Linked DNA regions of Homo sapiens: region 1 is linked to region 2. The links are contacts of gene promoters, found by promoter capture Hi-C in blood cells and fetal thymus (Javierre and others, 2016). All regions are on one chromosome and are shown on one strand. Each heading gives the region's core, a stretch centred on a gene start or on the middle of the fragment in contact. The rest is flanking DNA. Distances are from core to core; before and after follow the strand shown.

Region 1 (5,148 bases), core at 738-3,237, 4.3 Mb after region 2:
AATAACAAAAGTCTCCTGAAGATGCAGAATGGCTTTTGTAGCTATGGAGTCCCTAAGCCGTTTTATGAGACAAAACTAGAAAGTGTATGTTGTTTTTGGTCAAGAGCCCAAAGTGCTGAAGATATTAATTGAGGTAAGACCCACGTTCAAGAGAAGTGAAGCCAGGTCTTGCTCCCTTCATCAGTGATGCCTACATCCCTTCTCAGTTCCACACACCCCTGCTCTGTGCTTTCATTTGAAGGGATCATAATACTTGCAGCATGAAGGAACACGGATTCTGCTTTGTGACTTCCCTGCTCTTCATAAAAATGTATCAGCTACCTGTATTTATAAGAATGTTGGGAGGGGAGTAGCGGAGCCAGGGAAACAACTGAGTAACTTTAAATCTTTTCAGGAAATATACCACAAGAAATAGACAGATTTTGTAAATGCTTCCACATCATTTCTCTCACCTGAAAATAAGACATGCACACCGAAAAATCAATCATATCTGAAAGCAATCACTTTTTATAATAAGAAAAATATACCTTGTAATCCACTCCCCCAATTATTTTCCGAACCAGTTTAAATGTTAAGGCCCAAAGCTGTGTTCTTTCCCACTCAAGAGTGTCAGAGTTTATCAGGGATTCACAAACCAGCCTATAAAAAAAGAAATAGCCATTCCAGTTACAAGACAGAATTTTCCAAGTTCTCTAATAGCCGCCAATATGGTTTGGCTGTGTACTCACACAAATCTCATCTTGAATTGTAGTTCCCATAATCCCCACGTGTCATGAGAAAAACCATTTAAATCATGAGGGACAGTTCCCCCAATACTGTTCTCATGATAGTGAGTTAGTTCTCACAAGATCTAATGGTTTTATATGGGGATTCCCCCTTCACTGGGCACTCATTCTCTCTCCCACCACCCTGTGATGAGGTGCCTTTTGCCATTATTCTAAGTTTCCTGAGGCCTCCCTAGCCATGCCAAACTGTGAGTCAATTAAACCTCTTTCCTTTATAAGTTACCCAGTCTCGGGTATATCTTTGTTAGCAGCATCAGACAGACTAATACAGCCATAGTCTGTGCACTGTATTATATTTATCCTCACAAGTGTCTTTCATAAAAGTGATTACTAAGCACACTTATAAATCTGTGTAGTATTTTACATTTTTTACTTGTATGAAAGATCAAAAACAAAGTAAGAATGAAATAATATTCATTATGTTATATTTTACTAGAAAGAAGTCTATCTAAAGCTTTCGGTTAGATGTTTACCATCTATCACCTTGTGGTACACTGGATTTTTCCAACAGGATGGCAACAAGATTTTTGATCCCACATCTTCTTCTGAAATGTGACACTGACATTTCTCCCAAGGAGAGGTAGGGGGAAAGTCTACGTTCTCACTCCTTAGATCTGGGCAGACCTAAGACTATGGCCAAAAGGATGCAGTATGACTTCCAAGAAGACAAGGTGATACAATTTCTGCCTAGCCCTCTTTTGCACACTTGCTGTTAGGCTCCACCATGAGGTGAGAAAGTCTAGGCCACAAGGTGAGGGCCTGCGGAGGTTCTGGCTAATAATCCCAGCTGAGGTTCCAGATGACAGCCAGGAATCAACCACCAGATATCTGAGTGGGGAAGCTTTTGCCATGCTCCAGCCCTAGCCACATTGATCACAATCATTATGACCTTGAGTAAAAAGTGTCTCCTAAGCCGAGTCAACCACTAAAACCATGAATAATTTTAAAACCTGAGTATTACTGTTTTAAGCCATAAGGTGTTGAGGTTGTGCAGCAAAAGTAAAGGGTTACAAACTAATTAAAGTGATTAATTTCAGCCCCTGGGCAGAAACATCTGGTTTTGAGCCCACAAGCATTACCTAATTCAAAGACTATTACTCCTAGAAACTAAAACCTGAGGTATTATATAAAGGATTACTTGATAAACCTCACCTTCTTCTTCATTCTCTTACCTTTTTACAACAACAACCTCAACCAATTTCCAATCACATATAGAAAAGAAAATTCTTCAGATTGCTCATACCCATTAAACGTACCTGGGTGGAAGGAGACCAGTCTCAACTGCCATTGCTAAGCAGTCATAAAGAAAAGAAATTCTTTTAGGACTATGCTGACCATGAATAAACTTAACAATCCACTGGATACACTGTTCATGAGACTCCTGGAAAATGAGAGAATGATTTTACTTGGGGTCTAAAGTTACATTTTTATAACCAATAGCTAATACTACAACTGGAAGTATACCAATACTATGAAAGAAATACTTCACTATGAGCATCTGTGGATGAAAATAATTTTTAAAAAAAGCAAAATTAAAAAATTCAGATTTAGTATTTGTCACATTAAGCTTAACATTTTGTAATTACATAGATAAAATGCTACCATTTTTATTACATGGGAACTTCAAAAGTAGTAATTAATTAGTTAACATATTAACGGTCAATAGAAAACTCTTAACACAGATTGTTGTAAGGCATTGTAAACAGTGCCCTTTATGGCATATATAAATATTACTGTCACTGGGGGTAAAATTCATTATGGATCAGTATGTATCAGGCTTAGGAGAATTAGGTGTGAATCCAATCCCTAAGATCCCAAACAAGAGCCCATTATGAATCCAATGACATGTCACATTTCTAGACTGGCAAAACTTTAAATACGATGTCAAAATGTTGTGCCCGTATCAAAGTTTGTCTTCTAGGATTATCTCCAAAAAGAGCCTATAATGTTCTGCTTCTCTCCACAACCACTGTTCTCATACATACTTCTATTGTGGCACATATAACAATGATTTGGAAATACCTATTTTCTTCCTGGTCTCTCCATTAGAGGGCCACATCATAATTCATAAAGTGTTTAATGAATTTTTTTTTAAATTTTGGAAAGATATTCAACATCACTGAGAGAAATGCAAAATAAAATTATACTGAGATAAAATTTCTCATGTTTTTGATTGGCAAAGATCAAAAAGCTTAACACTCTATTGTGAGGTTATAAGAAAAAGATACTCTCAGCCGGGCGCGGTGGCTCATGCCTGTAATCCCAGCACTTTGGGAGGCCGAGGTGGGCAGATCATGAGGTCGGGAGATCGAGACCAACCTGGCTAACACGATGAAACCCCGTCTCTACTAAAAATACAAAAAATGAGCCGGGCGTGATAGCAGGTGCCTGTAGTCCCAGCTACTCGGGAGGCTGAGGCAGGAGAACGGCGTGAACCCGAGAGGCAGAGGTTGCAGTGAGCCAAGATCACGCCACTGCACTCTAGCCTGGGCGACAGAGTGAGACTCTGTCTCCAAAAAAAAAAAAAAAAAAGAAAAGAAAAAGATAATCTCAAACACTGCTGGTGGAAGCATAAACTAGTATAACCCTTATGGAAAATTTAATAATTTCTATAAAAATTACAAACTGATAAGGCTTTTGACTCAGCAATACTATTTCTAGGAATTTATCCTATTTTTCATGCATAATATTATTCATCACAGCATTGGTTAAATTAGAAAAAGTAAGAAGAAACTTAGAAGACAGTAGAAGATTGGTTAAAAGGAGGAAGGTACAGCCATACAATGGAATATTATGCTGCTATTTAAAAAAAAAAGTAAGAAAGGAAGGAACAAGTAACGCTTGGACTGATAGGGAATTACCTGTAGATTATTATTAGGAGAAAAAAAGTGCTAATTAATGAACAGTGTACATGGTATATGATCATGCTATAAAAGTGTTTCTATATGCATAAAATACTTCTAGAAGAAAACATAACCTGAGGATATTGGCTACAGACAGAAAAAATAACAGGTAAGAGAAGAGAAAGAGACTAGTTATTGGATCCACCCTTTTATACCTGTGCATTTTGAACCATATAAATGTATTACCTATTAGAAAACAACTAAACAAAAAGGTTAAAACATGACTGTATTGGCATTATATGATCCATGTCTGAGTGGCAAATCTTATCACCAGTGGCTGACACGCAAACAGTTCTCATTTCCCTACCTATAGTGTACCATGAGAAGGTAAGGCACTACTGCAATGTGAGCTCTTCGAGGATGACACATTTTTGTCTTTTTCACGGATACATTTTCTGGTAGCTGTTCTTTGTTACTTTTACAGTTTGTCTCCTCATTTTTACTATAATATTTTCCTATCCTTATTATAGAATCTTGGTATTCCTATTGTAGCATCTTTGTATCAATGCTGTGCCAATTCCTTTATTTAGCAGAAAAATGGAATTTGTATCCTTGACAAGTAAAGCTTAACATATCTGTTTTCAAGTGTACCAAATAAATCCGAATAGGATGAAAATGATCTCAATTAATCTAACATAGGGGAGGTTTTTTTTTTTAAACATCTCACACTGTGCAGTATCAACTTGACTTCTCAACACAGGTTTTCCACTGAAATATACAAATTAAAACAAATGGAAGCCAGAATAAAAAATGATAACAATTTTATTTCTCCCTTCTCAGGAAGATCTTAAGAGCAGCATGAAAGTAAATGTTAAAAGAAAAAAAAAAAAAAAAAGAAGAGGCCAAAAATCATCAGCTGAATGTATTAAAAATGAAGCGCTCACCTGAGAAAGACCACCCCAAAACTGTCTGAAGGCCCCCAAACAGCTAATTAGTTTTGTTTTCTCATCTTCAGGAGTATCCATAAACATGCTAAAAAAATAAAAATTACATTATTTGTCATTCGTTTTAAAAAGGTAATTACACACAATCAGAATAGTGGATCTTATAACCTTCCAACACGAAACTAAGTAAAATCTGACAGACACAATCACATAAAAACACAAAACTCTGCCACGCATACACTCACCCAGGAAAAGCCTCTTCTATAACTTCCGTTTTCTGTAAAAAAAAAAAAAACAAAATGTAAACAATGTTAATTTTAAAAAGGCGCCTCCCTTAGCCAAGTATTACAATGTAACACAGGGCAAGTCACCTTAATCAGCTCTGAAACTATCAATACCTGTCTGGCCTGTCACTGTATCGATTTCAAAGGATACAATGAACTTGACAGCAGTTTGAGAATCACTAAACTTCCCCGCATACAACCTCGGTGTCAAAACAAGGGAATAAAAAGGGAGGCGTGAGAGGAGGTTGCCCAGGCCAGTTTCCTTGGTCGGCTGCCCCCGCGTCTCCCCGTC
Region 2 (5,427 bases), core at 1-2,500:
GTTTCAATGCCATGCTTCTTCACAGGCTGGCTTCCCTTCCTGGAATGTTAATCATTGCAGGAATCCCAGCTGATTATACAGTCGCCTTTCAGGCCAGAACCCAATAAAAAATCAAGAAAGGATCGCCCGTTCTATTACTGCGCTGCTCCCTCCCCTCGTAGATTTCACAAATATACTTCTCACCACAAGCTTGTCTGTTCCAAGAGAATGCTAGCTCTTCTAAAGAAGGAGCCCTTTGTTTTCCTTGCCCTTGTCCAGTTCCTCTGCATACCTCTAGCACCTAGAGCAACAACTGCTATACAGGAGCCCAGATGTGGAACAGAGCAAAGAACTGAGTGTTGATTTAATGTTGCCTGAAGTCCTTAACAGCACCTTCAACCTAAACTTAACTGTGTTTTTAATCCCCTACACGTGTAATCCCTGTATGTGTGCGCAGCGTTAAAAGGATTATTGTAGCTCAAAAATTCTCCAATGAAAGAACCTCTACCAGAAAGGAGTTGCTCATCTTTCGTTCTTGAAAAGTTGGCTGCACGATACAAGTAAGAAAAGTTTTAGTTAGGCAAGACAACTTATACATAAAAGACAATTATAGGGAACATTACCTAACTTAGCACAGGGCCTCGAATGTATTCCGAAATTAAATCAGCATGTAGAAAGCAAGCCTCCTCATGCTTTTTAAAGTGTAATCTCGCGACCTCGCGGCGCGCTCTGGGAAGACCGATTCATCTCTTCCCCTCGCCCTCTTTCCCCGGCCGGCGCACAGCCGGCCCGTGGCGCTCGGCACCGCGTCTCCACGTCCAGCGCGGGGCAGGCCTGCGCGGCGCTTGCAAGGGACAAGCCGCGGAGCCGGGGAGGCTCGCCGTCTGGGACACGTTTGGAGAAGCGAGCGGTACAGTCCATTCCACGGCGACATTTTAGGATTCTCCCACTGACAACACTAAACTGAAGCGCTAAGACCAACCCTTACGACCACTTACCGTCGCAGGCCACGGTGGTGACTTCCTTTTCCGCTCCCCTACACACGCTTTTCCGTTTTGCGTGCCTTTGTTTCCGCTCCCCCCGGGACCATCGTGCGCCCCTGTCCTCCGTTCTTGTAGGTCCTCTCCTCTTCTCCGCGTCTTCTCTTTTACTATCCCACGCTCTCCTTTCCTTTCTCCGGGAACTTTATCCCGTTCCCCTGCCGGTTCCCGTGACCCCGGAAATCCCGCTCCTGCCGCGAGGCGCCCTCCGCTTCGCGCTCCCTCGTGTCACGAGGGAGCCAGGGTGGGCGGTCTCCTATTGTACTTGGCTTTTGAATTTTCGCTTTTGCAGCACAAAGGTAGGGCTGGGAAAGGAGGCTGCCGAACCGTGCTTGTTTTCGCTCAGATAAACGTGAGAAAAAGTGGAGGTGAGGAAGCCAGTGTAGGCAAATAGCGAGAGGGGAGAAGACAGAAAGGTACCGAAGGTCGACCTTTTTTAGGTATCTTATCCAAGTTATTGAGGGGAATGGGTATTTAGCCAGTTTTTTGTTTGTTTGTTTTTATCCGAATATCCAGTGTGTGTCTTGAATGTGTGAATGTGACGTGTTTATAAAGCTCAGTAAGCTTAAAATTCCGTGCCAATACATTTTGTATGCCGCAGACAGGAAGTGCTTTGGAAGACCCTTGAAAGGGGAGGTGATTTTACACCAATATTGAGATCATTTTGTCAGAGTCGTGGGACTAAAGGTAGACCTTAGGTAGTCGATGTCAAAGATAAGCGCAGCTGGACGTTAAAGCGGTGAAAACATTCAGTTAACTACTGACAGGAAAGAGCTGAGCTCTATTTCGATTCGTGCAGAGATCATCTGGGCATTTTTAAAGGGACGTTTTAAAAGGAGAAAGGGGATATGCGGGCGCTCAGTAGAGAAAGTGAACCTACAGAGTTGTTAGTGTAAATGTGATTAGGCCAGCTGTGTGTTTGTGTGTGCGCGCGTTTTAACAGTTACCGCAGGATTCTATCCTCCTACGGAGGATTTTATCCTTCTCGATTACATTTCAAAGGAATGACTCTCTGGTCCTTGAGAGAGAACTTCTGAGTGGCAAGAAATAAGTCTTTACAATTGCAAGCCCTTTAGTAAACGTTCTAAGAAAGGGATGTCAGAGACCTATCATCAGTTGTGTGCTGGTTACATCACGTAGTTAAGCTTTCTGAGGCAGTCGCCCTGGGCACAGGGCCTTATGCTGCTAAAGCTTGCTAGAGTTTGGTCAAGTCTCTGAACGCAGGGGTTTAGATGGGATGGTCATGTTCCTGGAGTTCTGCAGTGGTCATAGGTATGATTTGAATAAGTACAGGGAATATTCTAGTCGGAGGAACAGAATGTGCCAACGCGCCGAACAGGGAGGATAGTTTTACGATACGGAGATGTGTATGATAGGGAATAAGTGGGAGCCCAGTTTGGACTAATTGGAAGAAGTCATTATTAGAAGTACTGTATTTAATTCTAGTTTGTTATAAAATGAGACTCCAAGATCACTGAGCCATTTCACTGAGACTCCAAGATCACCCCAATGCTAGGCTAATCTCCATGGCGCCTAGATCTATGCCCACTCCATTCCCCATGTTGGTCCCCATAGTTTCAGGCACCAGGCTCCAACACCAGGTTGGGCCCTACAGCCCCAGTCTCCAGGTTGGCACCAGTGGATATAGGCTTTAGGTCCACTGACTGCTGGTCCCTACAGCCCCAGGTTCCAGTGAACCCAGGTTCCAGGCCTGCTCCAACAAACCCAAGGTCCAGGTCTACCCCAGTAGACCCTGGCACCAGAACTACCCCAGAGGGCCTAGCCTACAGGCTACCACCCACAAACCCAGCCTCCATGATGGCCTCTGAAGAATCAGGCTTTAGGTCTTCCCCAGCACCAGACTAGACTGCTAGACTGATGTTCCACTTTTGTCCCCATGGACCCAGGCACCAGGCCCATCTGAGAGGTTTCTTCAGTTTTATTTTTCAGTAATAACTTTCATTCTTCTTTCTCAGTGATAACTGTAGTACTCAGTGGGCTTTCTATTTCTGGCTCCCATTTTCCATCTTTCTTTTTAACACTTTGGGAAAATATCCAAGTTAAACTCTATATAGTGGGGTAGGTGGACAATGAAAGATAAGTAAATACATAATATGTATAATCAACGGAGTGAAAAGACAGCCTGCAGAATGGGAGAAAATATTTGCAAACTATATATCTGACAAAGGGTTAATATCCAGAGTATATGAAGAAGTCAACTCAATAGCCAAAAAAAAAAAAAAAAAAATCCAATTTAAAAATGAGCAAAAGGCCTGAATGGACATTTCTCAAAAGAAAACATGATGATGACTAACAAATATATGAAAAAATGCTCAGCCAGGCACAGTGACTCACACCTGTAATCCCACACCTTGGGAGGCCAAGCAGGTGGATTGCTTGAGCCCAGAAGTTCAAGACCAGCCATGGGCAACATGGCAGAACCCTGTCTCTACAAAAAATCACAATTGGCTGGGCAATGTGGCATACACCTATAGTCCTAGCTACTCAGGAGCCTGAGGTGGGAGGATCACTGGAGCCCAGGAGCTTGAGGCTGCAGTGAGCCATGATCACACCACTGCATTCCAGCCAGGGTGACAGAGCAAGACTCTCAAAAACAAATACATACATTTTTAAAAAATTAAAAATAAATAAAAATAATCATAGGGGAAATGCAAATCAAAACCACAATGAGATATCACCTCATACCTGTTAGAATGGCTATTATCAAAAAGACAAAAAATAACATGCCCATGCATATGTGGAGAGAAATACTTATACACTGTTGGTAAGAATGTAAATTACTGGCCAGATGCAGTGGCTCACGCCTGTAATCCCAGCACTTTGGGAGGCTGAGGTGGGCGGATCCCGAGGTCAGGAGGTCAAGACCATCCTGGCCCACATGCTGAAACCCCTTATCTACTAAAAATACAAAAAAATTAGCCAGGCATGGCAGCACATGCCTGTAGTCCCAGCTAAACCTGGGAGGCAGAGGCTGCAGTGAGCCGAGATCACACCACTGCACTCCAGCCTGGGTGACACAGCGAGACTCCGTCTCAAAAAAATAATAAATAAACAAAAGAATTTGAATTACTCTAGCCATTATAGAAAACAGTATAGAGGTTCCTCAAAAAATTAAAAACAAAACTGCCATATGATCCCACAATCCCACGCCTGGGTATATATCTGAAGGAAGTAAAATCAGTATGTTGCAGAGATATCTGCACTCTCATGTTTATTGCAGCACTGTTCATAAGAGCCGAGATATGGAATCAACCTAAGTGTCCATCAGTGGATGAGCGGATAAAGAAAATGTGGTATATACATACAATGGAATACTATTCAGCCATTAAAAGGAATGAAATCCTGTCATTTGTGGCAACATAGATGGACCTGGAGAACATTAAGTGAAATAAGCCAGGCACAGAAAGACAAATATCACATGATCTCATGCAGGTGTAGAATCCAAAGAAGTTGATCTCATAGAAGTGGGAAATAAAATGGTGGTTATCAGAGGCTGAGAAGAGATTAATCAGTGGGTACAAAGTTACAGTTAGGAGGAATAAATTCTGGCGGTCTATTGCACAGTAGGATGACTGTGGTTAACAACATTGTTTCAAAATGGCTAGAAAAGATTTTGGTTGTTCTCACTACAAAGAAATGGTAAATACATGAGGTGATGGTTTTGCTAAATAACATTAAAATATCACCATATCCCATAAATAAGTAAAATTGTTATGTGTCAAAAATGAAACAAAAATATATAATGTTGGGGGGTATTAAGTGCTATGATGACAAGTAAAGCAAGTTTGGCATAATTTTGGGAGTTGGCATATTAGGTTAAGGTAAAGCCAGTTACTTTTGTTATGTTTATGAATTCCTAGGCCTCTTGACAAACACTGAGGTTCTCAAACATTGGCAAACACAAGTCACATTAGGTAAACATACAAATTCTTGGCCTTAGTTCCATATATTTTATTCTGAACAAATAGCCCTTAAGTCAAAATTGAGAAACAATGATTAGTAATAAGTTTTTACACTTCAAGTATTTCCTCATTCTGAACAAAGGATGTCGACATGTATTTACACACTTGAATGTTTCAACACTACCGTGTGATGTGATTTTACTTTTTTTTTTTTATATATTTCAGCTTTGAGTATCATGTATTCTATTTTCAATCTGTTGTTTGTGGCCTAGACTCAATGCAATAAGTTTTTAAGGGGTTTTCTCTCTGAAGCACAAAATACCTTTTTACTCTAAAAAGCGGGGATGGGAAGAAGATAAACCAGACTCAGATATTATGATTTTCTTCACTTGTCCCTGGTATGAGTTTTATGAAAACATTTGTAACCCAATCACAGCTATCTTTCCCCTGAAACAACACGTGCTTTAGACTGAATTGGTTATAGT

Evidence for each region. The method cuts DNA at HindIII sites, captures the fragments that hold promoters and counts their contacts. A CHiCAGO score of 5 or more calls a contact.
Region 1: a contact is called between a fragment that was not itself captured here and the fragment with the promoter of ECHDC1 in region 2, in 2 of 17 cell types (naive CD8 T cells and total CD4 T cells). The highest score is 7.3, in naive CD8 T cells.

What each region holds. Positions count from the first base shown.
Region 1 is chr6:131,622,824-131,627,971 of GRCh38, forward strand. MED23 (mediator complex subunit 23) reads right to left here. Exons shown (of 29, transcript NM_004830.4): 2 at 4,818-4,849; 3 at 4,573-4,660; 4 at 2,042-2,166; 5 at 528-639. Among named protein-coding and RNA genes, the nearest start is that of MED23, 2.8 kb to the right of the region's middle. RefSeq lists an enhancer at 5,059-5,108. The HindIII fragment of the contact is 726 bases long and covers 1,625-2,350 here.
Region 2 is chr6:127,342,359-127,347,785 of GRCh38, forward strand. It overlaps ECHDC1 (ethylmalonyl-CoA decarboxylase 1), which reads right to left and starts at 1,251. Exons shown (of 6, transcript NM_001002030.2): 1 at 978-1,251. RefSeq lists enhancers at 536-1,409, 2,284-3,157. The HindIII fragment of the contact is 1,394 bases long and covers 188-1,581 here.